Linked DNA regions of Homo sapiens: regions 1, 2 and 4 are each linked to region 3. The links are contacts of gene promoters, found by promoter capture Hi-C in blood cells and fetal thymus (Javierre and others, 2016). All regions are on one chromosome and are shown on one strand. The core of a region is centred on a gene start or on the middle of the fragment in contact, and the rest is flanking DNA. Distances in the headings are between cores, read along the strand shown.

What was found. The method cuts DNA at HindIII sites, captures the fragments that hold promoters and counts their contacts. A CHiCAGO score of 5 or more calls a contact.
Region 1: a contact is called between a fragment that was not itself captured here and the fragment with the promoter of H2BC7 in region 3, in 1 of 17 cell types (naive CD8 T cells). The highest score is 7.2, in naive CD8 T cells.
Region 2: a contact is called between a fragment that was not itself captured here and the fragment with the promoter of H2BC7 in region 3, in 2 of 17 cell types (M2 macrophages and M0 macrophages). The highest score is 8.3, in M2 macrophages.
Region 4: a fragment that was not itself captured here is called in contact with the fragment with the promoter of H2BC7 in region 3 in 2 of 17 cell types (M0 macrophages and monocytes); the score reaches 7.7 in M0 macrophages.

Annotation. Positions count from the first base shown.
Region 1 is chr6:27,477,611-27,484,581 of GRCh38, forward strand. It overlaps TRD-GTC2-6 (tRNA-Asp (anticodon GTC) 2-6), which reads left to right and starts at 2,064; the gene lies at 2,064-2,135. It overlaps TRS-AGA2-2 (tRNA-Ser (anticodon AGA) 2-2), which reads left to right and starts at 1,202; the gene lies at 1,202-1,283. RefSeq lists a silencer at 2,117-2,176. The HindIII fragment of the contact is 3,440 bases long and covers 1,639-5,078 here.
Region 2 is chr6:27,776,672-27,783,999 of GRCh38, forward strand. It overlaps the pseudogene RSL24D1P1. Among named protein-coding and RNA genes, the nearest start is that of TRQ-CTG6-1, 11 kb to the right of the region's middle. RefSeq lists a silencer at 1,212-1,271. The HindIII fragment of the contact is 2,981 bases long and covers 34-3,014 here.
Region 3 is chr6:26,194,291-26,201,601 of GRCh38, forward strand. H2BC7 (H2B clustered histone 7) reads left to right here and starts at 5,226. Exons shown (of 1, transcript NM_003522.4): 1 at 5,226-5,698. The coding sequence starts at 5,269. The coding sequence ends at 5,649. It overlaps H2AC7 (H2A clustered histone 7), which reads right to left and starts at 5,003. Exons shown (of 1, transcript NM_021065.3): 1 at 4,494-5,003. The coding sequence starts at 4,953. The coding sequence ends at 4,561. H3C4 (H3 clustered histone 4) reads right to left here and starts at 2,996. Exons shown (of 1, transcript NM_001376937.1): 1 at 2,494-2,996. The coding sequence starts at 2,960. The coding sequence ends at 2,550. It also overlaps the pseudogene H1-12P. RefSeq lists enhancers at 4,068-4,127, 4,158-4,217, 4,349-4,966, 4,378-4,447, 4,495-5,694 and 7 more. The HindIII fragment of the contact is 6,177 bases long and covers 5,164-7,311 here.
Region 4 is chr6:27,753,749-27,760,487 of GRCh38, forward strand. No RefSeq gene overlaps it. Among named protein-coding and RNA genes, the nearest start is that of TRV-AAC1-5, 3.6 kb to the left of the region's middle. The HindIII fragment of the contact is 2,133 bases long and covers 3,223-5,355 here.

The DNA.
Region 1 (6,971 bases), core at 2,109-4,608, 1.3 Mb after region 3:
GAAAGAAAGAGGATCAGGAGGCAGTGGGGCTGCGGAAGGTCAGAGAGACTTTGATTCTGAGGTTGCTTCTTTAGTTCAAAGTACTCAGCACTTCCAAGAGCCATACTTTGGGGTATCATTTTCTGAGCTCTAACAAGGGTCCTCAGAAAATCTCTGTCTCTTCCCTTCCCGGTCTTCCTTCGTTTCTCCTCTTCCTCTTCCTCCTCTTCTTTCTCCTTCATCCTCTTCTTTCTACCTCCTGTCCCTCCTTCCTTTCTCTCTTCTCCTTTCTGGTCACTTTCTTCTTTTCCTCTTCCTTCTTGTCCCTCTTCCTCATTTATCTACTTAGTCGACATGATTTCTTAGCTTGCGATTGTTTCCCTCTTTTCTTAGATTAGTATATGGTTCCAAGAAGTAGATGAAAGCCAATTACAATAATCTGTGCATCCAAAGGGCTCAGGGAAACTCCAGGACCGGCAGCTTTAGACTTCAAGACGGAAGCATAAGAGGAAAAGAAAACATACTGCGTGGGTTAGATTTTGAGAGAAGGAGCGTCTGCCTTGGCCAAAAATCAAAGTAGGATCTTCCTTTTGATAGGTAACCTGGTTCCATGGGAACTCATGAACAATCTATAAATTTCTTTCTTAACCCAACTGAAGCGTGGAAGCGCATTGTGAAATGCAAAATGCCGTGCAAACGAGACCGGGTAGATATACTCCCTTGGGTTGGTGTGAGCCTAGAGACTTAGGGACCTCATCAGAGCAAGAAAGTGCAAGTAGGCTTTTCTGCATCATTTTCTGGCCCTCCAGTTCAGACACAAATCAAAAGTTAGTCCCTTCTTGAAAGCCATTAGCATTCATCAAGGAGCCTCAATGAGAGGAAGTTTCAAACAAAAACTAAATGTGTCAGGCCCAGATTTACGGTGAGGGTCTGATTCCACTTCCTTGCGGGGTCAGTTTGGGTCCAGGTGAGAGAGGTACAGTGGTCTCTAGTTTTCTGGAAACGGTACTGCTGATAGGGCAAGGACTCCTTGCGGCTGCCCCAGAGAGGTTGGCTTGTCTTATCCAACTTGCACTTCACGTTAGAGTTTCTAATGAACTCGCAGACTCCAGTTTCTTGCCCAGGAAACCATTTTTACCGTATTTTGTTCTTTTGACCGTTTCTTGTCAGTTAGCTGGTGTAAATTCTGTTTAAAGATGTGAAGGGAGCCTTCTCCATTCGTGTAGTCGTGGCCGAGTGGTTAAGGCGATGGACTAGAAATCCATTGGGGTCTCCCCGCGCAGGTTCGAATCCTGCCGACTACGGGATGTTTTACTGAGAACAGTTCAGCGAGGAAATAGGATCTCACATTTGCTTTCAGTTTGGGAGTAAAGAAACTCGTGATAGAGCCTCTGCGTGTCACCTAACATAGCCTGAACTTTTGCCGACTTCGGGATGTTTTACTGAGAACAGTTCAGAGAGGAAATACGATGTCATATTTGCTTTCAGTTTGGGAGTAAAGGAACTCGTAATAGAGCTTCTGCGTGCCACTTAACGCAGCCTGAACTTTTGCCGACTTCGGGATGTTTTACTGAGAACAGAGAGGAATCGTATTTACTTCAGAGAGGAAATACGATGTCATATTTGCTTTCAGTTTGGGGGCGAGGGAACTCGTGATAAAGCTTCTGCGTGCCACTTGACGCATCCTGAACTTTAAAAATACATCTGCAGACTCTTTATCTATTTTACCTCAACGGAGCGCAGGTATTGGTCCCACCTCTGCTTTTCCTGTCTTTGAAACCAACCGATGCACCTTTCGGGATTTGTAACTCCTATGTTAGCTAGGGCTCCAACCATGGTTGAACATAGACGGAAACCAGTGCGTCACAAAGGAGGCTAGCGAGAGTTCTTTTTTAAAAGGGTCTGACAAAGCGTCCGAGGAATGAAGGAGGAACTGGAGAGGATTCGCGGTTGGGCGGAGACACGTTCGCTGAATTGCCTTGCGTATATTTGGTAGGGGAAACGTGTGACTACAGAGCAAAGAAAGATGGACAATAGCGAGTAACTTCACAGGGATTTCCTAAGAGCTCCATTTTCACGTCAATTCCTCGTTAGTATAGTGGTGAGTATCCCCGCCTGTCACGCGGGAGACCGGGGTTCGATTCCCCGACGGGGAGGAGGCTTAAACTTTTTTTTAGAAAAGCACACTTCCGGTAAACACAGTCTCTAGTCTTCTGGGCAAATGTTGGGTTCTCTTTTTCTTTAGCAGAGTTCTTTCAAACCAACGAAATACTGATCGCAAAAACCATAAGCTGTAGAAATCATGAGGTTCTGTAATAGCAAGAAAATTTCCACTCTGCACTGTAATCTCCATCACAGTGGAGAAACCGGGTAGATACCATCTTACCCAAGTGATTGAATCAGTATTGGGACGAATCTACATTATATACCTTTTTTACAGGATGTGCTCATGAGAGCACAACGTCACTTTTGTGGTATTCTTGGCAAAAATATGTAATCTAAATCAGAAAACATCAGACAAACCCATATTGAGGGAGATTTTAACAAAATAACTGACTTGTACGCCTCAAAAACTGCAATTACTTTTGCATCAACCTAGTAACAGGCAAGCAGGGAGGAAAAATAAATAAATAAATAAATAAATAAATAAACAAATAAATAAAATAACAAAGTTACAGAACACAAAGAAAGGCTGACTAAATAGTCCACATTATAGAAGATCTTAAAGATATGACAGCAACATATGGTCTGGAATTTTTATCTTAAAGGACATTATTGAAATAGTTGGTGAAATCTCAATAAAGTCTATAGATTTTATAATATTATGAATGTGAATTCCTGATTGTATTAATTGTTCTATGGTTATAGAACAAAATGTCTTTAAGAAAATTCACACCTATTTACAAAATACGTATTTAAGGGTAAGGGGAGGTATGTGTCTTCAAACTCACTGTCAAATAGTTCAGAAATATACATTTATGTATATATATGAGAGAGAGAAGGAAAAGAAAATATAGGAATATCCTTAATGTGCTAATATTGAGGGAATTGGGGTGAAGGGTGCTCAGGAATTATCTGTATTATTCATGTACTGTGTCTGTCAGTCTAAAATAATTTCAGAATGGAAAGTTAAAAGGAGAAAAGCCTAATAAAACTATAAATGAAAATATACGAATTAAAATGTAAAAGGGCAAATATACAATTTTGAACAATGCATATGACAAGAGTGACGACTACATTAATGAATAGGAATTTAGAACTGATGAAGGAGTGGGATTCAAAATGTTATAAGTGAGCAAGAAAATTCATAACATGTGACAAAAGCTACATAAAGAGTGAATGCCTGAAACAACATTGTTTCGTAATGATTACATGTTGGAATATGAAAACAAATGGTACTAAATTTCAAAACAGCAACGACAATATAAAATGGAAAGGTATGGCGAAATCCAAATCATTCTAAGCTCCTTTATAATAAGGTAGGAATTAGAAGTGTACCTAGTATATACCCTCGACCAACGCTGAATGGATGAATATTAAAAGCAATATTTTTGTGAGCCATAATCAAAGCCAACAGCATTGCTTCTTTAATGAAAGAATACTCTTCCAGCATATAACAATATGTCTGATTTTGTTTTAAAAATACTTATTGGCCAGGCGAGGTGGCTCATGCCTCTAATCCAAGCACTTTGGGAGGCTGAGGCGGGTGGATCACCTGAGGTCTGGAGTTCGATACCAGCCTGGCCAACCTGCTGAAACCCCATCTCTACTAAAAATACAAAAATTAGCTGGGTGTGGTGGCGGGCACCTGTAATCCCAGCTACTCGGAGGCTGAGGCAGGAGAATCACTTGAACCCGGGAGGCGGAGGTTGCAGTGAACCAAGATTGCAGCATTGCACTCCAGCCTGGGCGACAGAGCAAGACTCTGTCTCCAAAAAAAAAAAAAAGAAAAATAATTATTATTAACATTTTTGTCATGAAATTTTGGCCATCAAATTTAAAAGTTAATATTATTGTGCAACACTTTCAGCCAATGGATTCTTTTTTTCGTTAACACTATTGAACAGTAGAGTGATTGATGCCTCATCCTTTTCACCTAACATTGAATCTCGTTTGTCTCTATTACTTCCTTTTAATCTATTATTTCTTTTTTAATCTAGAAGAAAAATGATTCATCGTGGATAAGAACTATAAAGCAATTGTTTTGTTTGTTTGTTTGTTTCTGGCTTTTTTTTTTTTTTGAGACAGAGTCTCGCTCTATCGCCCAAGCTGCTGTGCAATGGCGCAATCTTGGCTCACCACAACCTCTGCCTCCTGAGTTCGAGCCATTCTCCTGGCTCAGCCTCCCGAGTAGCTGGGATTGCAGGCGTGTATTTTGAGTAGAGACAGGGTTTCACCACGTTGGCCAGGCTGGTCTTGAACTCCTGACCTCGTGATCTACCTGCCTCAGCCTCCCAAAATGCTGGGATTACAGGTGTGAGCCACCAAGCCCGACTTAAAGCAACTGTTTGAAGGCACTGATAAGCTGTCAACCCAGGCAAGGCTTGACAAACTACAATCCTTGAGAGAAGGGAAGCACATTATATGAGTTTGCACATTTGAAAGTGCTTTCCTCCTGAAGGTGTGTCCCGTATTGCACCATTGTGGAATAGACCTCATGTGGAAAGAGGCAGTTGTGCTGGACTAAGGAGATACTGGTCAGAGTTTGGGGCTACCAACGTGCATAGAACTTGATGGTCAAAATTCAAGTGATGAGGGAACCACAGAGAAAGATCTCAAATTTGTATTATAAATTCTCCTTATATTACTGGCTAATTCCTAAGTTGTACCTACACAGGAAGATGTTCCAGTACAGGAAAGAGCAACTGGAAGGCTAATGATCTGTAGAGATCCAGTAGCTGCATGGTTCTAGGGAGACAGAGGTTGATGTTCATGCCTCTCCCAGTTGGAGCCCCATTGGTAAAATGGCTGTTGTTTTGAGACTTCAGAAATACTAACCCTTAGCACTAAGTGATAAACCTTTAAAGTAAGGACCACATAAAAGGAGTAAGGCTATGCCTTCACAGCAAGGAAAAACTAAACTAGACAAATTGTAACAAAGCTTCAGTCTTTGTTGTATCCGGGAAAAACTACCAGAAGACTCTGAATGTTTGGAAATAAAGCAGTTTGTGTCCTACACTCTACAGGTCAAAGAAGAAAACACAATATAAATTTTTAAATGTTTTAAGCTGAAAGATAATGAAAATAAGACGTATCATAATTTGTCTAATGCATCTAAAGCTGTTTATAGAGAACAATTTTTACTTTTAACTACATGTATTACAACAATAGAAAGATTGAAAATCCATGATCTAACTCAAGAGACTATAAAAAGCCAGCAATTTAAATGCAAAAAGTACAAGGAGCTATTAAAAATAAGTGCAGAAATCAATAAAATGGAAAGCAAACATACATCACAGAAAATCAACAAAGTAAAAGTTTGGTTCTTTGAAAAGATTGATAAAACGAATGTACCCTGAATAAGACTGATTTTAAAAAGAGGGTAAGATAACACATGAATACTAGCATTGGGAATGAAACAGATTATATGTATGTGTGTGTGTGTATGTGTATATATATATATATATATATATATATATACATGCACACATATATACACCCTAAAGATATTTTAAAAACAAGAAAGAGGTATTATAAATGTGTTTATGTCAATATATGTGAAACATTTGATGAAATAGATATATTCCTTGAAAAACACAATATGGCCGGGTGCAGTGGATCACGCCTGTAATCCTAGCACTTTGGGAGACCGAGGCAGGTGGATCACCTGAGGTCAGGAGTTTGAGACCAGCCTGGCCAACATGGTGAAACCCTTTCTCTACTAAAAATACAAAAATTAGCCAGGCGTGGTGGCACATGCCTGTGATCCCAGCTACTCTGGAGGCTGAGGCACAAGAATTGCTTGAACCCGGGAGGCGGAGGTTGCAGTGAGCCAAGATCGCGCCACTGCACTCAAGCCTGGGCCACAGAGTGAGACTCCGTCTCAAAAAAAAAAAAAAAAGAAAGAAAGAAAGAAAAAAAGACAAACAATATGCCACAACTGACACCAAAAGCAATAGGAAATCTTTATTGCCCTATACTTATTGGAAAAATTAAATCCATAATTTAAAGAGCCACTCATATACACTTCCAGGCGTAGGTAGATTCACTTGTGAATTCCCACATACAAGTAAGAGATAAATAATATCAGTCTTTCAGAAAGCTATTCAGAGAACTGAAAAAGAGAAAACATTGTTCAGCTAATTTAACTACACAGACATAATTCTGATACCAAAACCCAGAAAGAGAGTACAAGAACAGAATATTACAAGCCAATATTTCTTTTAAACATAGACTCAAAACTTTTTACCAAAATATTAGCAAAGTAAATAAAGCATATTATTTTAAAAGTCAAAACATTATATTCAAATCAGATTTACTCTAGAAATGGAAATTTGGTTTAACTTTTTTTTTTTTTAAATTTATTTTTTTATTGATAATTCTTGGGTGTTTCTCACAGAGGGGGATTTGGCAGGGTCATGGGACAATAGTGGAGGGAAGGTCAGCAGATAAACAAGTGAACAAAGGTCTCTGGTTTTCCTAGGCAGAGGACCCTGCGGCCTTCCGCAGTGTTTGTGTCCCTGATTACTTGAGATTAGGGATTGGTGATGACTCTTAACGAGCATGCTGCCTTCAAGCATCTGTTTAACAAAGCACATCTTGCACCGCCCTTAATCCATTTAATCCTGAGTGGACACAGCACATGTTTCAGAGAGCACAGGGTTGAGGGTAAGGTCACAGATCAACAAGATCCCAAGGCAGAGGAATTTTTCTTAGTGCAGAACAAAATGAAAAGTCTCCCATGTCTACTTCTTTCTACACAGACACGGCAACCATCCGATTTCTCAATCTTTTCCCCACCTTTCCCGCCTTTCTATTCCACAAAGCCGCCA
Region 2 (7,328 bases), core at 274-2,773, 1.6 Mb after region 3:
AGAGTGATGGGGAGCAGCTATAAATACAGATGAAGCTTCACTGGCTCTCCTGCTGCTCACCTTCTGCTGTGTGGTCCGGTTTCTAACAGGCTGCCACTACCACTGACCAGTACCGGGTCAGTGGCCCAGGGGTTGGGGCTCCCTGCTGTGATAGTTAATACCCATGGCTCCAAATCTAGTGGCCCCACGTCAGGTCCTGGTGGGACCTGGTTCAGTTTTGCTTAGGACTCATCTTGTCCACATGAACCATTCCAGCCTGCTTTCTCATGCTCTTATTCTGGGATATCTTCCTAACCCCAGTATATCTGCCTCAGTGTCTCACCCTGTCTTTTTAGAAAAGGAAAAAAAAAAAAAAAGAAAGAAAACGTAAATGAAATTGGTGGAGAGTAATGGCCACCAATCCTATGCCTGACCTGGAACTGGAAACACAAGGCTTTCCTGAAGACAGAGAAACTCTGAGAAAACGGGAAAAGCAAGTTGGTGAAAAGAGCAAAATAAAAGTTTCAGAAGGGACTTTCTTGACATAGCACAGGATGAAGGAGTATCAAAGGTCTCTGTTTGGGCCCTTGGCTGGGAAAGCCCACATTCGCTGAAAGTGAAAGCTGTCCGCAGACATAACACCAAAGGGTTAGGGTAGGAAGCCCCTTTTTATGAATTCAACGGCAGGGATAGGGGTGGGGATAAGGTGGGGCTGCGTGGGTACACCAGGCGCCCGGAAAGCTGCAAAAGGCGTTAGGTCAATATGCAAAAATACTTCTAGGTCAATACGCAAAAATACTTCTAGTGTTGGGAAAGAAATTTTATTGGGGACAGGAAACAAGCGAACTGGCTAATATACTTTCTCTCTAAGGAGAGTAGTCTGACTTAATGCCTTCCTCGATTCTCTCTAAGGGCTTCTGAGGGCTTTGCTTGACTTTTCTCCTGTTTCTGCTCCTGAGCCCAAAGCAGCTCTTAAAGAAAGAAATGTCAGGTTTTGAAGCATGTTTGGTAGATTTGGAAAGGGCAACTCGCAACTTGAAGGGGATTGTTGGAATCAACTGGTTCTAGAGTGAGCTGATCTTAAGAGGCCAAGAGGAAAAAAGAAAAACCGGGAAAGAAACAGTGAAAGAAAAACAGAAAGAGGCAAAACAGTGTAACAACAACAACAACAACAACAACAAAATGGCTGATCACCTGCATGATAAATAAGAAGAGTAGAAGCGTGTTTTCCGTTAGCAGAGTGGCGCAGCGGAAGCGTGCTGGGCCCATAACCCAGAGGTCGATGGATCTAAACCATCCTCTGCTAAAGAAGGGTGCTTTTTTTTTTTTTTTTCCCCCCCCCCTTCTTGAGGAATTACCTTCCACAGTTGTGGGGAGAAGATGGCCTCTAAATATATATTATATATATTATATCTCTCTCTCTCTCTCGCTCTCTCTCTCTTAAAAGTCCTTTCAGAGGCTGTATCTCACTTTTAGATATGTCTTCAGCATGTTCCTTCTCCTTTCTCCAAATGTTTGCGTAACTCCTTTCTTACTCATATCTTATTTGGAAAGGCATATCTTACTTGGGAAGAGGAGGTGACAATTCTCATGTTTACTTCCAACAAATTACCTATCTTCCAGTGAATAGAAAATACACTGAGGTTGAATATAATTTTATATTTTCTTGCACTCGAAGGCAAAACACTGTTACTGACTTTTGCCTGAGACCATTGGTTATTGTAAATCGTTATTGTCTTTTTGCTTCTACGGGAGCCTCCTGCTTCTTTTGCTCTTTTGTTCATCTCTATGCATGATTTATTAAATTCATTTCGTGTACTGTGAATTCTTCTCTAAAGCTATCTGTTACGATGGCCAAAAGACATCATTTATACCCTCCTCCTTCCATACTTACAGAAACTAGACACATGGAATGTTATGAGAAAGAGAAGCAACAATGAAGTTAAGTGTAAAATGGTTGATTCTACTTGGATAGATTTTTTTAAAAAATGTAAATGGTAGAAAACATAGGGGTACATTTAAAGCATTTTGTGAATCAGAATTCCATGGGCAAACTCAGAAGACCAATAATCTTTATTTTGTCTGCTTACCTTCTAGAAGCATTTTAACTAACTTTAAATGTCCAGGCATAAGAGATTGGTTGAATAAACTGTAACATGGACTCAAAGAGGAAGCGCTATGGGGCTACAAAAAAGATATAATTTCTAGGAGATAGTGTTAAGTAAAGAAAGTGCAGATGAATATTATAGTAGGCTACCTTTTTTCAAGAAGGAAGGGGAATTAAGAAAACATACACATACCTGTTTTTCTTTCTGAAAAGAAAACATAGTGAAGATAAACCAGAAAACAGTGAATCTGGCTACCTAAAATGGTGGTAAGAGACTTGGGGGAAATGGAGTGTAAGGGACATGGGACGCCACTTCTCTGAGTTTACCTTTTGTTATACCTTTAACTTTTGAAAGCATGTGAATGTTTTACTTTTTTTTTTTTTAACGGAAGAGGTTCTCTGTGTGAACATGTTGACTAAATACAAAAGGGTTATAAAAGGTCTTTGCTTCTTTAAAATTTCTGAGTCATCGTTTTGGCAAAATAAATAACTTATAGCAATCTGGAATTCCCAAAATCAAACATCGGTTTCAAAAATCTCTTCCCTGGCACCTGGCTTTTTGAATACTTCAGCGGGCCCCTGAAGTGTCCAGAAAAGACAGGTAAACAGGATTATTTGACACGTTTAGGTACATGGGATTGCCAAAATGATGCTCAATCTTCTTTAGGCTATATTTTTGTGAATAATACTAATATATATTTCAAAATTGTATGGGATTTCTAAAATAGTATAAGCTATTAATTATAGTTATGTTAAGTTATTGTAAACTGCAGAAACAACCAAATTTTCTTGTATAAAGCTACTAACCCAAGTAAAACAAAAACTTAATTAAATATCAAGAAAATAATTTCATGTTAAACCAGCTAATACTGAAATTGTTTAAAATAGTTTATAACCAATGCTTGATGCCATATTCCTGGGAAAACAAAGCTTCAGATATGTTTGGTCACGTGGTCGCCCATTTAAACATTTTATAAAGGAATTTTATTCATTTGTTATTTTCTTTTTCTGTTTATTTTTTCTTTTTAAATGGTTTCATTTTATGTGCAAATAATGAACAGATGTTATACTCATAAATTCTACTTTCCAAAAACAGGAGCTTTTTAAAAGAAAACCATATAATAACTTTTAAAAGGCACTGGGATTCCTCTGCTTCTAGAACATTGCTAGGCTAGAAAAATAAAGTTTGTTCTACCAGCAGTCACAAGTTAGAACTGAGTATTCTCCAAAATGGAAATTCTAGAGTGTAGTGTCACTCCAGGCAAAGATTATTCAGTTCTCATCCCCAATATCCACAACTACCTATCAGAAGGGTTAAACCAGGTCAAAACAGTCCAGAATAATTAGGCTTCATCAAACAATGTCATTGTGCTCTTCTAAGATACAAATAAACCAAAACAGGAAATACTAAAATCAAAATAACATTTGACACTGTTATACAAATTGTTAGTTCCTTGTTGTATCCCCCCTTCTGTAACGTTAATAAACGGAATATTTTATTGCAAAGAATATTTTATTTTATACATCACTAGCCATGAATTTTTGCCATTAGTTGTTATACAAATGCTGCCTAGTGCCATTATCCAAATAGCATAACCATTTTACATCCACAATTCACTTCTATAGTTAGAAGTAGAATTTTCATGATTTACATACGTACATCTATCAGTGAAGATTTAACACTGAGATGCAATCTAACATTCGTAATATCTGATGTTTTGCAGATGTCAATGTAGGAAAGATATGTTTTAATCACTTTTCATTTAAGTGACCTTATGTAAAAAATAAACTAATAATTTAGCAGTTCCAAGTCTGTAAAGGACATTTTCAAATGTACATAAAAGAAATGGTTACAGAGATTTTTAAGATGTGTTTTCCATGCCTACATGCTCTTGTAACTGCTGTACCATTTTCTCTTCCAGCTGCTTCTCTTTGCCTGCAAGAGGGGCTTGAATAAGATGGATGTTTTGCTTGACTTCTTTGATATCCTGAACTTTCTGTAGCTCTTTATTTTTATTCAGTCTGTTCATTATAAATTTAGCTTGGCATTTCTGTTTGATTTCTTCAATTTGCTTCATTGCATCAATAGTTTTATTCCATAGCTCTCGCTGGTATTTGATAGGTTCATTTCTACGTTTTTCAAATTCAAATGAATTATCCACTGTAAGCTCTTTACCAGCTGCATTCTGGAATGCTTTGATCCACCTAGCTTTGCGAGGACTGCACTTCTTTTAAAAGTTTTTATGACATTTAGATTTACAAAATCTGAACAACTTGCAATTGTTGTGGACGAACATCATGCCGTGACCAGGGTAGATGGGCCCTGAACAGAAATAACACTTCTCAATACACATGTTGAACCCACGTGGGTCCCCACCAAGCAAACACCAAGCTTGAGAGCTCATTTGTTATTTTCAGTGCATGTTTTCTGGTTGTATAAAAGGTTTCCTATGCAAGAGGGCTGATGTTATAACAGTAGATTACTACAGTGTATTTTCAACAGGCAAAGAAAGCTTTTTATGATTTGAATCTTCTAGAAGCATCAGAGAAAGACTGTTCTTGCCATTCACACTACAACAAAACTTTGGGATCTTGAACTTTGAGTTCATAATCTCACAACTGAGAAGGGTCCCTCCAAGCTCTTGGAGCTGTGTGCCCACTGGAACCCTTAAGGTAAAATTAACCAAAGAAATTTCTCCCAAGAGGAGAATGGCATCCTTACTATGAACAGCTTTTCTCACGTTCACAGATTAAGACTTCTACTGTCGTGAAACTTATCTTCGAATATTTTTTGTTGCTTATGCCTCTACAAAAAAATAGAAGTGGAAAAGGTGTCTGTTATGTGCACTTATGGTGTATACTCTTACTTGCGAAGGAGTTTGTAACCAGCTTTTTAAATGGGTAAACTTATACTTTGATAGATAAAAGATGAAGGCCCAATGTAGGTAAGAAACTTTAAAGGTACATGCTTTGCCTCATAATCAAAAACAAAACATTGGTTCACTCCTCTTAACCCACATCATGGGTTAAAGAGAACATTGCCAGAAGGCCTTCACTCTTCTAAAAAGGCATCATTTGTTAGGTCCTTTTTCCATGGTTTAAAGAAAAAGAAGCAATGATTAGAAATATATCCCTCACAATAGGTTCTATAGCAAATTCTACTGTAAAGGCTATAGTTACACAATAGACTCTAAATTACCTTGTGAAAGTTATGATAGAATTGGCTAAACAGAGAAGTATCTGTGCAGCTGCTGGCACTTGTGGCCTATGGAAAAATACGTCAAATGAAGATTACAGAAATTCAGTGGTAGAGGATTGACAAAGAAATTGCTAAGTCAAGTGAGTAAATTCTTTATCTAGCTGATCCTTTGATCTATTTGATTTTAAGAGGTTTGGTTTATGGGGACCTTGGGTAAGGAGCACACTCCAAACTCTTGGTATCATCCTCCCAATAGTCATAATAATAGTCTCCCTGGTGCACTGCATTCCCTCGAAGGTTTTAAATGCTTGCATGTAGCCATCTCCAGAATGTCAAATGGTCTTTCTTCAGCTGGAATAACAAGAGCTGAAGGAAATGTGCAACCATGAGGACCCCTTAACCTATGAATGATGTGCTGAGACCAGAAGCCCAAAATGATGGTAACTGAGAGCAGCACTAAGGCCCTAAGTTTTGGTTACACTCTCACCTGAGAACCTGACCAAAAAGGGGAAATTTTTTTAACAAAATTCTGGAAGGCCATTGTTTCGGACTAGGCTTATGCACTAGGCCCCAACAAACCAAACCAAACCAAAAGGGAGTCACTTCTGCTAAGACTTTAAGGAAACACATAGATTTCTAGAACAAACCAGGTTTTGTTTTTTCTCCTGCAAACCTCTATAACAAACATTTCTGAGAGCATAGGTATCCACCCCCGAAGTTCCCATTAAATCTTTTAACCAAATTCATTTCCTCTTGCTTAGAAATCATCAAGCTTCAGATGATCATGAAACAAAGGTTCCAGCCACCTCCATGTGAAGACACCACCCCTGGCCATCAAGAAGCTACCTTGCCTTCACTAGACAGAACAGGGAGAGAGTTCCATGATCCACAATAGGTAGGGACTACGCCCCAAGGTAGCATGAAGCAGTTACAGAAAAAAGACCATCAGTCCCTCTGCCTCCCATAAAGATTTATGGGGATCACATCTCTCAGGGAGGAAATGAGACAGGAAAATAAGGTCTGGAGGCAGGGAACATAAGGCCAATTCATACTTCAGCTATAAAAGGAAATATCCTCTCCATAGGGCATATGCTGTAAATGACTTTGTAACTTTACCTCATCCTGTCTGTTTATATAGGGCTTCCGAAGTAACAAATAAGAATTCTCTAGGGGTTAAACTCCTGAAAATTCTGTAACGGGGCCTTTGAGCCCCTAGGTTCAGGTCCACTCCCACACTGTGGAGTGTACTTTCATTTTCAATAAAACCCTTAATTCCTTCATTGCTTTGTTTGTGAGTTTTGTCCAATTCTTCGTTTAAGACGCCAGAACCTGCACACCCTCCACCGTTAACAGTTACCTAAAATGGTGTTGGTGGTAAGAGACTTGGGGGAAATGGAGTGCAAGGGATATGGGAGGCCACTTCTCTGAGTTTACCTTTTGTTAGACCTTTAACTTTTGAAAGCGTGTGAATGCTTTACCTTTTTTTTTTTCTTTTTTTTGAGACAGAGTCTGACTGCGTCACCCACACTGGAGTGCAGTGGAGCGATATGGGCTCACTGCAATCTCCGCCTCTCAGGTTCAAATGATTCTCTTGCCTCAGCCTCCCGAGCAGCTGGGATTACAGGCACGTGCCACCTTACCTGGCTAGTTTTTGTATTTTTAATACAGATGAGGTGTCACCATATTGGCCAGGCTGGTCTTGAACTCCTGACCTCAGGTGATCCACCCACCTCAGCCTCCCAAAGTGCTGCAATTACAGGCATGAGCCACCGTGCCCGGCCAACCTACATTTTCAAAAACTGTTAAGTAAGGATGGGTAGTGGAGAAAACTAAGGTTGAAAGCAAGTTAAAGCAAATGAACTCAATTTTATTCCATAGTACGACTACATGGAAAGGAAAATAACATAATTTGTGGACAGGGCATTTGACAGTACACCTTCACTCTTTGGCCAAGAGAGTGAGGATGGTAAGGAGACAGGGGTGTGTGTATGGAGAAATGCAAACAAATCTTTAACTCTATTTATTTATTTGGTTAGTTGTTAC
Region 3 (7,311 bases), core at 3,976-6,475:
ATCAAAAAGTGTGAAACCCTCACCTTTTGGGCTTTACTCTGTCTGTTCCCAGCATTTATCTCCTTCATAGTCTTAGTAAAACAGAAATGTATATGCTCCCCAGATCAGCATACGTTCAAGACATTGAGGAGTGAAGAAAATCAGTTAATTCACTTTCTGCCATCACTCCATTTTCTTCTCATATCGAACATAAGCTGTACTTCATCACTATAAGCCTATATCCTTGTTTAAACAAGAAATGTAGTACTGAATATGAAACATGGCTGTTTTTTAAATTTCTCTCTCTAGGGAATTTTGTGTGTGTGTGGTGCTTGTGTGTATATTCTTTGATCCTGGTACTTGAATAGTTTACCAAAGTCTATTTTCCCCGTGTCACCAAGCATGACAGACCCCTGAACCCAAAGACTCATGAATATTTTAATAACAAATTTCCCCCAGTAAAAATTTAAAAAAAAAATTTTTTTTTGACCCTTAAATGAGTCAAACTCTGTCTCTTTTATGTCCTTTCGTGGATCTCTCCTGAGTTCAGCTATGCAAACAGTCCCAATATCAGGAGAATCAGTGATCATTGTATTTCCCATTTTCCCAAGGAAACGTTGAACATTTACTGGAACCCTCCCAAAGTAACTAAACGTCCAAATAGTTACAAGAAGCTATCATGAAATATTTTCAGCCCCAGCTAATTTTATCAGAAAGGGCTGTTGTTCTAAGTATCCGTACTGCTGTTCTTGTGGAGAAATTCAAAAAGAACCTGTTGTTTCTCTTCTCATATAAAACAGATTTCCTCGTTAAATCTCAATGAAAATCAAGTAGTTGTTCAATGTATGAGAAGCCAAAAATGTGTAGGCTATTATTAGAAGACAGCAAACAATTGAAGACACGAATGGAAGAATTTATATTTTAAATGAAAATCAAGAAGTTGTCCCTCTGAACTGTGAATCTCTGAAAGTTGGAACTTTTGATAAAGGCCGAGGCTGCCTTAAGTAAAAACTAGAGAAAGAAAATGTAAAGATCATAACACCGTAGCCGTTCCAGTTCATTGTAGAATAGAATTGGTGTGATTCCTCCTCAGGAAATTTAAACTATTTTGATTTTCTGAATTTCCGCAAACACAACTCAGAAACAGGGTTGAGACTAGGTTGCTGCCAAGCTGAAAGACTGAGCTGGGAACCAATCAGCGCGCAGCGTGTCTGTGTGTGACACACACGTAATCACAGACACACTCGCAGCCTGACTTTTTTTTTTTTTAACTGTTAGATATCCAAACCTACAATCATGTCCGAAACTGTACATGCCGTGACTCCTGGTCTATCTCCCAAGTCAAAGACTGAAGTAAAGAAAAAGGTTGCAAGTCCGAAGTTGCAGTGAAGTGCAAGATGTCCAGGCCCCTCCGGTATGTGAGTTCATCACTAATGACTTAGCCGTCTCCAAGAAGCGCAGCGGCCTTCTCTGTGGCCGCGCTCAAGTAGGTGTTGGCGGCTACGATATGAAGATCGGCCCTTGCCGGTCGCGGTGGCCTACGTTTGTAATCTCAGCATTTTGTGAGGCCAAGGCGGGAGAATCTCTTAAGCTAAGGAGTTGTTTTTGGTGGTTTTGTTTGTCCTTGGGGATTTTTTTTTTTTTTTTGAAGGAGTCTAGCTCTGCTGCCCAGGCTGGAGTGCAGTGGTGTGATCTCGGTTCACTGCAACTTCCGCCTCCCGGGTTCAAGCCCTTCTCCTGCCTCAGCTTTCCATGTAGCTGGGACTGCAGGCGTGTGCCACCACACCCGGCTAATTTTTGTATTCTCAGTAGAGACGAAGTTTCAATGTGTTGGGCAGGCTGGTCTCGAACTCTTGGCATCACGTGATCCGCCCGCCTTGGCATCCTAAAGTGCTGTGATTACAGGCCTGAGCCACCTCGCCTGGCCAAGCTAAGGAGTTTTGAGGCCAGCCTGGGTAACACAGTGAGACCTCGTCCCTAAAAATAAATACAAATTTTTAAAAATTATTTGAATAAAGTTGGGCCTTGAAAACAAACGAGGGCATCTTCGTGCTAAGGAGTGCAGCGCCTCAGGTTCATTCCCGCCAAACCAGGCAGTGTTAGGAAAATCAAGACCGAGGCCAGAAAAGCCGCTGCAGTCATGCCCAAGACAGCTGTCCTGGCAGCCGAGAGGCCCAAGAAAGCTTGGGGCGTCCTTATTCCGAAAAAGAGTACTAAGCGGACCCCAAAAGCTTTTGCTGGTGGAGGCTGCTGGAGAAGGTTGGTTGGTCAAAGGTGGCCAAGAAAGTTCCCAAGCCGGAGGCATCCAAGCCTAAGAAAGCGGCCCCCAAAACAAGGAGATATAAGAGTACCTTAAAGGCTGTTTTAAGAACTCCCCAATTATAATAAAGCTTTTTGCACCAATTCCGTGAGGGGAGGGGGAACGGATAGAGGCAAGAATGCTTACTTACCTTGAGTGAACAGAGGTTCCAGTTTACGGACAGCAACAGTAAACAGCAACTTTTATAGAAAAGGTGGTTGGCTCTGAAAAGAGCCTTTGGGTTTTGGTTAGCACACATTCACAAGACAATTTACGCCCTCTCCCCACGAATGCGGCGAGCAAGCTGGATGTCCTTGGGCATGATAGTCACTCGCTTGGCGTGAATGGCGCATAGGTTGGTGTCCTCAAACAGCCCCACCAGGTAGGCCTCGCAGGCCTCCTGCAGCGCCATCACCGCCGAGCTCTGAAAACGCAGATCAGTCTTGAAGTCCTGCGCGATCTCACGGACTAGACGCTGGAATGGCAGTTTGCGAATCAGCAGCTCGGTCGACTTCTGGTAGCGGCGGATCTCGCGCAGAGCCACCGTGCCGGGCCGGTAACGGTGGGGCTTCTTCACGCCGCCGGTGGCTGGAGCGCTCTTTCGAGCAGCCTTGGTGGCCAGCTGCTTGCGTGGCGCTTTCCCACCCGTGGACTTGCGAGCAGTCTGCTTGGTACGAGCCATTGCGAACTTCTAAACCCTGCTAAATGACGAAAAAACGAAAGTCTAGCCTTTCGTACCCGTATATATAAAGACACCCCTGTTCTGATTGGACAAGGCAGCCTTTCCCCTGCAGCTCGATTGGTGGAGACGCCCACTCCCTGACAGAACATCTCCTGCATGTAGACCAAATATTAAAACTTTCCTCCGTCCATCTTTAACTGCTGGTGTTTTCAACCCTTTCCCCTCTGTGCCATGTTTCTAGCTTTTATTTAAAACGTACTTTGGTTTTCCTTGGCAAAATTGTGTCTAGCTACTAGGATGACGTGTCTTAATTTTTTTTTAAATGTTGGCGCTGAAACTGGCTTTGATCAACGTTTTAAAAAGACGCGCGCTAGTTGTGATTGGCCAAGTGATTTCTTTTTACCCTCTTAAGTTTAGAAAGGTTAATTTCATATCTTGATTTGTCTATTTAAACTTGGAGATATTTTCAATAATTTGTTCCAAATGCACCATGACTATTAACTCATAAGTAACAATATGAAACCTGATGTTAAGCTACATGAACACATTTAATTTCACCACAATATGTCATCCTCATATGAAAGCACTCTTATCTTTTACAAGTTCAACTGGTATTTGTGTAATCTGCTGTAAAAAAAAAAAAAAAAAAAAGCCAAATTTATAAATGGCACAAAAAGACCAGTGTGCCCTTTTAGTCATGCTGAACACTGTGCTAAGAAGCTCCACCTAAGGGCCGTCTGGCTCCAGGGGATGTAGGTTTGTATTCCTATTGATAATTAATTAGGGTTAGCTCAGTAGAGTTGAAAGTGGCTTGCAAAAACAAACCCAAAAAATACTTACAAATTACAGGTTATTTCGTATCATTAAGATGCATACAAAAGACAATAAAACATTTGTTCTGGTTCTGTTGCTTTAAGTCACTAACTATATTTTTATGTAAATGTAAACACTGACAAACATTAACTTCTCTCCTGTATGTCTCAGGCCTTTTAACAGCTTTGCAATCCTAACGAGCCGCTGCATTGATCGATTTAAATTACATGTGACATAAAGTCTCTTTGCATTTTAATTAGTTTGCTTTTTTGGGTTTTTGTTTGTTTTGAGACAGTCTCGCTCTGTCGCCGAAACTGGAGTGCAGTGGCGCGATCTCGACTCACTGCAACCTCCGCCTCCGGGGTTCAACATTTTCTCCTGCCTCAACCTCTTAAATAGCTGAAATTACAGGCGCGCGCCACCACGCCCGACAAATTTTTTTATTTTTAGTAAAGACGGGGCTTCACACCATGTTGGTCAGGCTGTCCTGGAACTCCTGACCCTGTGATCCGCCCACCTTGGCCTTCCAAAGTCCTGGGATTACAGGCGTAAGGAACCGCGCCCCGCCAATTTGCTTATGTATTTTTATGGCATCTTTAAAATGGACGGTTAGTTTCACGATTCAGTGTTAAGAACACCCACTTATAAATGGAAAAATTATTAAAGAAAACTGCAAAATAGCTATTTACACAGAAAATGTGAGCCCTTTTAAGGAATACATGGGTGGCTCTGAAAAGAGCCTTTGTTAAGACTGCTTCCTTAAAAAGCCAATATAAGAGTTCTCGTTTTACTTGCCCTTGGCCTTGTGGTGACTCTCAGTCTTCTTGGGGAGCAGTACAGCCTGGATGTTGGGCAGAACACCGCCCTGAGCAATTGTGACTTTACCCAGCAACTTGTTTAGCTCCTCGTCGTTGCGGATGGCCAGCTGCAGGTGTCGGGGGATGATGCGGGTCTTCTTGTTGTCGCGGGCGGCGTTGCCCGCCAGCTCCAGGATCTCGGCGGTCAGGTACTCCAACACCGCCGCCAGATACACTGGCGCGCCGGCCCCGACTCGCTCGGAGTAGTTGCCCTTGCGGAGCAAGCGGTGTACGCGGCCCACAGGGAACTGGAGTCCGGCCCGCGAAGAGCGGGTCTTAGCCTTAGCTCGGGCCTTTCCGCCTTGCTTGCCGCGTCCGGACATTTTGAATTCTTAAAAACGATGTTAAGCAATGAAGACAAAAATGTAAAAGTGAATTTTGTTAGCAAGTGAGAAACTATTATACTTGGAGGTCGAATTGTAAATAACGCTATTTGATTGGCTAGAACAACCAACCAATTGCAAAGAAACGCTAGAATCACCTAATTTGCATACCACAGGGCACACAGAGACAATTCATCCAATCAATGTGTAAGCTTTTAAATGCCAGTTTACGATAGGAGCTCTACAAATATTACCAGCTGCAGAGTGAGGACACTTGCATTTCTCTTTAGGTTGTGGACGAAGTGTTTATTTATCATGCCTGAACCTGCTAAGTCCGCTCCTGCTCCAAAAAAGGGCTCCAAAAAGGCGGTGACCAAGGCGCAGAAGAAGGATGGTAAGAAGCGCAAGCGTAGCCGCAAGGAGAGCTATTCCGTGTACGTGTACAAGGTGCTAAAGCAGGTCCACCCCGACACCGGCATCTCATCCAAGGCCATGGGCATCATGAACTCCTTCGTCAACGATATCTTCGAGCGCATCGCTGGCGAGGCTTCCCGCCTGGCGCATTACAACAAGCGCTCCACCATCACCTCCAGGGAGATCCAGACGGCCGTACGCCTGCTGCTGCCCGGGGAGCTGGCTAAGCACGCCGTGTCAGAGGGCACCAAGGCCGTCACCAAGTACACCAGCTCTAAGTAATTCTAACGTCTTCATACCCAATCCCAAAGGCTCTTTTAAGAGCCACCCACTTTTTCAGCTATAGAGTTGTAATTACCTGCATATTTTCCGTGTTTACCACCAACAGGTTTGGTTTTATCCTCATTTGAGGGGGTTGCTGCTGTGTAGGTCTAGACCACAGTTCTTTTGACTGGTTGAAGGAAAATGCTATACTTAACCGTAGCATGTTTGTTTTACCCCAAGTGCTGGTTAGAAGGCTAGCCCATTGTGCTGATAAGCACATTTTTCTTATGTTGTGCTGTGATGTGTCCCTTGTCAAATTGGTTTCATAAGAAAAGAACTTTTGAAATATCTCTTTTGCTACTGACATAGTGTGAGGGAAAGGAATGTCTTCCTTAATTCCGGTTTAGTCATCGCAGCATTGGCGAATTTAGCTGGTTAAAATAATGTAATCAAATTCTTTAAAATATAAGGAAAGCAAGACAAGTAATGTGCATGAAAACTGAAAAAATGTGAACACCCGAGCCTGGATGCAGCACTAATAATCAACATTGTTCTTGGTTTAGTTAAAGAAAATTTGGCCACTGGCAAAATACCATTTGGGAGTAATGAGACACACCCCTAATCCTAAAATATTTTCTTGTCACTTCCTCAAAGTTGTTTTTGACTTTTTTTCCTTCAGGGTTGACTTCATATGTGTTCATTTTATTCTAATAAGCAAAAGTTGTAATTTTTAAGTGAAAAAATAATTTATGTCATTCTACTTACAAATACAATTTTTCTATTCTATATACTCATATATAAAGATACTGAAGTTTTACTGTATTCTTGGTAATTACAAGCCTTACTTAAGATCATAAACTGTTATGAATGGCATCCAGTGTAGAATACTTAAAATTTTTACAAAATGTTTTTGTATCTTAAAAATATTTAAAATATTATATATAAAAGATTCTTAGAATTTCAACCCAGTTAAGAAAAAAGGAATAGTATTCTATATTATTACTTTTTTTTTTTTTTTGAGGAGGAGTTTCGCTATTGTTGCTCAGAGTAGAGTGCAATGGCGCAATCTCGGCTCACAGCAACCTCTGGCTCCCGGGTTCAAGCGATTCTCCCGTCTCAGCCTCCCGAGTAGCTGGAACTACAGGCGCGCACCACCATGCCCGGCTATTTTTTGTATTTTTAGTAGAGACGGAGTTTCACCATGTTGGTCAGGCTGGTTTCGAACTCCTGACCTCAGGTGATCCACCATCCTCAGACTCCCAAAATGCTGGGATTACAGGCGTGAGCCACCACACCCGTCCCATAATTATTTTTCAACTTCCCACTCCCTGTCCGGCACATAAATGGACACAGAACACAGCACATGCAAAGCATATATAAACATTCAAATAAACAAAACCCAACTGAAAAAATGAAAGCAACAAGAAAAACCTAGGAAAATGAAAACTAAAAATACTAAATGGCTTCATGTGCCAATTTACATTGGCATAGCAGTCGATTTTTGCTTTCTGTAGTTCCAGAAGTAAATATCTAAACTAAGGTCTACATCAGCTTGAGGGGAATACAACAAGTTTCTGAAATTATATGCAGAAATGTGGCCATATGTGTTTCCCCTTCCCAGAACAAATTATATAGCTTTCTATCAGATTCTAAAAATGTTAAGCAGAATAAGGATACCCC
Region 4 (6,739 bases), core at 3,039-5,538, 1.6 Mb after region 3:
TATGCATCTATGAATCTATGAACTAATTTTTAAACCTATTTCTAGTATTTAGATGTTCTTCCCATTGTTTTATACTTTAAAAAATACTGATTAGTTTTCAAATTTATAGATATAAATGTTTTAATGTTATATAATGTTTATATAACATTATATATAATGTTATATAATGTTTATAAGATATAAACATTTTAATGTTTAGTTGTAACCAACTAGTAGCTTCAATGATAACTCAATTCGAAGGAATTCTATAAAAAGTAGAACATTATGCTTCCCATAACAAAAATAATAAATAACTGGCTAATGACTTCACCTGACTGTAGCGTAGTCTTTGGTGCTCTAATTAGAAGAGAAGCTCTTTTCTTTCTAGAAATACTTGCCGACCTCCTTGTGGAAAACCCTCCCTTTCCGCTGTCTGCATTCGGATGAGAACCAGATCACCAGGGAGATGCAGACCAGGGGGACACTTCCTCCTGTTAACACTAGCGGAGCTGGTGGAACCCAGCCGACCATGCAGGAGGGAGGAGCTGGCAACGCCCTGAACGGTGGGAGGGGAAAGCATGCGGGGTGTCAGCGTCTCTAGGGTTTGGATAAGCCGATTTCAAGTCCAGGACAGGAGAGAAAACAAAAGAGTTCTGTTCAAATAATAATAATAATAAATCTTACTGAGTTTCAAACCAAGGGTCTTTACTGTATTGGGCAAATGTGATAACCACAATACCAGTAAAACTTGCCTTTGGTCCCATGTCTCTTCTACAGGAAAAAAAAAATACAGTTTTTCCAGATGCCCCAGGTTCTATAATCTCAAAGCTGCCCTTTCTTCCCAGAAACTCTCACAGTGGTGGTACGTTTCTTGCCCTTGTACTTTTAGTGTACTAAAACCAACAGCCAAACTTTATCATTTTAGCAATCCAAGTATTCACCCATGAGCCCCAATTTCTTTGCAAATGCCAGGCAAGAAAACCTCAAGTAGATAGAGAAGTAGAGAGCAGATGATTTGATTTTTTTAAAAAAATTCTACCATAGTGTCCTTATCTTATCCATGCAACTTGTTCTGATCTTCATCTTTCTAGTGCCAGAAAATGACCCTTTTAGGAACCCGGACCTGTAAGACTGAGCTCTTGGGACTATTAGCATTTGTTACAGAGCAGGTAAGCTTCAGGATGAGATATACTGGGGAACAGGTACAAGGTTACAAGATTGGATTCTATGTCACAAATAATTATTTCTCTGGAATGTGACAGTTCAATGCTATTTGATTTAGAAAAGGAGGATAAAACGCTCGTGTATTTTTTTCTTTTCTTTGTTCTTCTCTCCCTTTTCACTGTCTTCCTCTATCTACTTTCACTGCACACCTAGAAGCAAGCTGCCTTCTTCCAGATTCCTCCTTATAACTTCACTTTGCATATAAACACCACACACTCTCTGTGCTTAGAGGTGGTGGTTGGGCTGCCAGACCAGTCTGGAGAAAGTCTGTGCTTACTTTTTCCTCTACTTAGTATTCTTTCTTCCATGGGTGCCAGGAACAGAGAGCCCCTTCTCACCTTGAGATCATGTGAGCTGGTAGTAGCTGGATCATGAATAATTGGAATGCTGTGGGTAACAACTGAAAGAAAGACTGTAATTCCCAATTAACAAATTAGACTGTATTTCCCAATTAACAAATCAAGACCAGATTAGCAGCAACAATGATCATTAAAAATATTGTTAAAGAAAAAAAGAAAGAAAAAAGATAAAAAATATTGTTAAACTGGACATAGTGGTGTACCTGTAGTTCTAGTTACTCTGGAGACGAAGTAAATCAGGAAGATCACTTGAGCCCAGGAGTTTGAGGTTGCATGTGCAATGATTGTGTCTGTGAAAAGCCACTGCCCTCCAGCCTGGGCAATATAGGGAGACTCCATCTCTAATTTAAAAAAAATTGTTGTAAACACATTTATTTCATATTAATTAAAATAAATTATTGGCTGGGCACAGTGGCTCATGCCTGTAATTCTAGCACTTTGGGAGGCTTAGGCGGGATGATCACTTGAGCCATGAGTTCGAGACAGCCTGGGCAACATTGCGAGATCCCCATTTCAAATTTTTTTAAAAAGAAAAATAAATTATTGAGCTACAAACAATGTGCCAGACAATTGTGACCCTATGTTGTCACTAGGAGTACCAGAGGCATGCAGGACAAGATTACACAATCCTAACTCTCAAGGAGAAGAAAGAGGAACATGAGCAGCCAATATGCCATAAGCAAAAAGTGGAGCAACAGACGTACAGATTGCGAAGCATTTGGATGGTAGTATAGAGAGGAGGCATCTTCTTAGTCCTTATGAACTGGCAGGGCAGATCTGGCAGGGATCTTTGGAGCCAAAATATCTGAGTACAATTCCTTCCTCTGCCACTTTCTCATCATATGTAGGGTTTCAGGCAAGCTATTTGGCTTCTTCATGACTCTGTCTGTGCTGGTAAAATGGATATGGATACAGTGTGTACCTCATAGAATTATCATAAACTCAATTAAGAAAAACTCCCTGAAGTGTTTCAGACAGTGCTCAACTTACAGAAGTAGTTACTGCTTTTATTTTTAGTATTACTTTTAGCCTTGTCAAGCCTCCTGAGTCAAGATCTATCCCTGTCATTTCGGGTTTACATTTGAGCAAGTTAAGGCTTGAACAATGTGCTGAGGTTATGCTAGCTAGGAAAGGACACCACCAGGTGTGTTTGTCTCCAGAACTGGTGTTCTTGACCACCATGCTATACTAGGTAGTTTTATAAACCCCTGTTTATGACAAAAAAAGATTATAGAGAATATTATGGACCTCCTTATTTCCATGATCCTACTTCAACAATTAGTCTCTCCTCCCTCTGCCAAGCCCCCATGATAATTTAAAGCAAATTTAGACATTTTCATCTAGCAACAGCTTTTTGTGGCATTTTCATAGCATATGCTTCCATTTAACTTTGTAGTTAATGAGGAAATTTGTTGAGCTGTTCTCCCCTGGGCGGGAGAGATGCCATGCAGGGAGTCCTAAGCTTCCCATTGTCCCTCAGATCAGTAAAGAAGACCAGCCCTAAGCTGCTGACCACAGGTTCATGGGACTCTTCTGAGGGAATGTGAGGCCCAGAACTTACGCTAGTGATTCTCCAGGTGGACTATTCCTAAGATTCCTTGCCATACCCCCTTCTAGTGCAGAGGGTCTCTGGTATGGCCCACAAGTCTTAATTTTTAGAAGCTTCCAGGTGATTCAGAAGCTGAGGACCTTTGGGAAGATTTTGACAATCCTTTCATTAATGACAAATTTGTTTCATCTTAAAAAACAAAACTTCATCCTTGTATGTGTGGAGGAGGACACTATAGTGAAATTAAAGAAAAAAAAAGTCAAATTATCTGCTCCCTCCATCTACCTGAGGTTTTCTTGCTTGGCATTTGCAAAGAAATTGGGCGCATGGGTGAATACTTTGATTGCTATAAAGAGTAGAGTTTGGCCGTTGATTTTAGTACACTAAAAGTGCAAGGGCAAGAAACATACCAGCACCTTGACAGTTTCTGGGAAGAAACTTAACGGCACCTTCTGGACCCAATCTGCGTGGCGCAGTGGCCTAAAGAGGCGACCGAACCTGCATCCCTAGCTCCGCCTTCCCGGTCCCTGCACACCCCGGCAGCTTCCGCGCGATTCTTCCCGCCCCCGACACCCGCCGCCACACAAAGGCGCTGCGTCCTGGCGGCCAGCGGGGGCTTAGTCTAGGCCCGGCAGGGTTTTCTGGAAGACCAGAGGGCCACCAGGTCACCGAGGTGGGAAGTGAAGAGAGGTTCGACGCTGCCTCAGGCCTGGGCCTGGCCGGTGGGAGACACAGCAAGGACTCTGGGAGCCTGCAGAGCAGAGGCCGCCGCGGGGCCGGGCCCCCGTCTCCTCCTCAGGTCCAAGACCAGAGGGTCTGCAGGGCCCCAGAGCAGCTGGCCGCGCTCCGCTTCCCACCGCGCTCTCTGCTGGAACTCATGTGGTTGTTTATCCTTATTTTGCTAAATTTCTTTATTTGCTGTAACAGTTTGTGTGTGTGTGTGTTTGAGTGTGTGTGTGTAATTTTCAGGGTTTTCTATATATAAAAATCATGTCACGGCCAGGCTTGGTGGCTCACACCTGTAATCCCAGCACTTTGGGAGGCCAAGGTAGGAGGATCGCCTGAGCCCAGGAGTTCGAGACCAGCCTGGGCAACACGGGCAACATAGCGAGACCCTAGTCTCTAAAATTTTTTTTATTAGCCGGGCATGGTGGCAGGCGCCTGTGGTCCCAGTTACTCCGGAGGATGAGGCAGGGTAATCGCTTGAACCAGGGAAGTCGAGGCTTCAGTGAGGCATAATTGCTCTGCTGCATCCCAGCCTGGGTGACAAAGAGAGATCCCATCTCTCTCTCAAAAAAAAGTCATGTTATCTGTGAACATAGATAATTTTACTTTTTCCTTGCCAATACTGTGCTGAATAACATGGTGAAAGTGGGCACCCATTATTCCTGATTGTAGGAGAAAAATTTTCAGTCTTTCGCTGTTGAGAATGATATTAGTTGTATGTTTTTCATAATTGGGCATTATCAAGTTGAGGAAGTTTCCTTCTATTCCTGGTTTACATTGTGTGTGTGTGTGTGTTTTGTTTGTTTGTTTTGACAGAGTCTTGCTCTGTCACCCAAGCTGGAGTGCAGTGGCCGCGATCTCGGCTCACTACAGCTTAGACCTCCAGGGCTCAAGCAATCCTTCGACTTCAGCCTGCCAAGTAGCTAGGACCATAGGCGTACAGCACCACATTTAGAAGTCCCTGAGAAAATTATCTTGGAGGAAAACTCGCAAGTCCGACTATTGGTTTTCCAAGGAAGCCAGTCTCGCCTGTGAGGAGGGATCCTGCTCGCCCTGGGAGCCTACTCAGACACCATGGGGAATGGGGGGTGGGGCTCAGAGCGCGCAGGCTTGGTTTTTTTCCCCCTCCGAACTCCTGAGTTCCAGTGATCTGCCTGACTCAGCCTCCCACAGTGCTGGGATTACAAGTGTGAGCCACTGCGCCTGGCCTATTACTTGTTTTAATAATAACAAAAAACAGCAAAATCTTGCAGAAGGTTGGAAGGTAACCAAGCAGCTTAGCTTCAAACCACGTTTTAAAAACTTTGTTTCTTTTCTTCTTTCTCCCCAGTTTCTAGACATAGCTTTGAGACAAACTGCAGATGTGCTTTCTTTTGTCGTCAATTACTGCCTTGGAATGGGCATTAAAACTGCCTTCCCTTTCGCATCTTATGCCCCCATGCCTTATGCTCATTTATTTACCTGGATGCTTGTTAAGCTCATACCATGCCCACTTATCTGGTCATATATTTCCTTAGAAGCTTCAGGGGCTGAATCCTGATGCAGACCAGACATCTCCAGAATTCTCTCTCCAGTAGGAGATTAATTCAAGGACAATATTCACTCTTGGCTAGAGATTATCTGCAAGATTGACTGTCATTAATTTGTAACTTGATTGGGCCTACAATGTCACTGGCCCCTTCACCAGGTGAAACAATAATTCAAGATAAGCCATCAGAATGAGACACCCACTGGGCACCTCCTGCCTCTTGCCCCTCTGCATTACAAGCTCCTCTCCTTGAAATGCTTGGCCTCTCTCCAGAAATTGGAGAGTGGCAAATTTTGGCCAGCCACTCTCCCCATTGCTAGCATGGATAATAAAACTTACTCTATTTTTAATTACACCTCATTCCTTTTTTTTTCTTTTTTTTTTTTTTTTTTTTGAGATGGAGTCTCACTCTGTTGCCCAGGCTGGAGTGCAGTGGCACGATCTCAGCTCACTGCAGCCCTGCCTCCTGGGTTCAAGCGATTCTTCTGCCTGAGCCTCCTGAGTAGCTGGGAGTACAGGCGCACGCCAGCACACCCAGCTAATTTTTGTATTTTTAGTAGAGACGGGGTTTCACCATATAGGCGAGGCTGGTCTCAAACTCCTGACCTCGTGATCCGTCCGCCTCGGCCTCCCAAAGTCCTGGGATTACAGGCATGAGCCACCACGCCCGGCCTCATTCTTGTTCTTTTGGCTTTTTTCTACAAGTGACAATCAGCCAGACCCTCTTTCAGCTACAGGAAGAGTTTGATAAAGAGAATGCCTGAGCTCAATCTTGTGTGTTTTAAGGAAACAGAAAAAAAGGGAAAAGAAAAAGTCTTTTCCTGCCTTGTACCTCTGTCTAACTAAAAAGAGAGGCAGCTTCCTCACAGAAAAATATCACTGATCTTAAAACTGAATTCAAAGAACTGAAGAAGGAAGTTTCTAGTGTTTCACTTCTGTGGATTTGGCCCAGAAAAATCCACAGAGAAGGTGTTAAAGTCAGGTAATTTATCCTGCATCCCTTAGAAAGCCCTAGAGCCAATCAAAACTCTCCCCAAAGGGCTGAAATCAGGCTCTGAGGGTTGTGGGAGTGACAGAGCCATGTAAGCTCTCTGGATTCACAGGTTTAGGTCACTGCTGATGGATTCAATTACTATGGGAGGACATTTCATGCTGTCTAATTTTCATTCAATTGGATGATTCTCCCAAATCCTTCGTTCTTTACCATAAGTTTACTCATTATTTTAGCTTTACCTCAAGGCACTTTCCCCTGGGAATTTTTCTGAGACCAGTGTGAGTTAGGTGTACTTCCTGTGTTTTGATTTGTCATACTAAAAATCTTACAAGTATGAATTTCTACATGAAATAAAGGTAAGATCTTAATCTTAACAATCT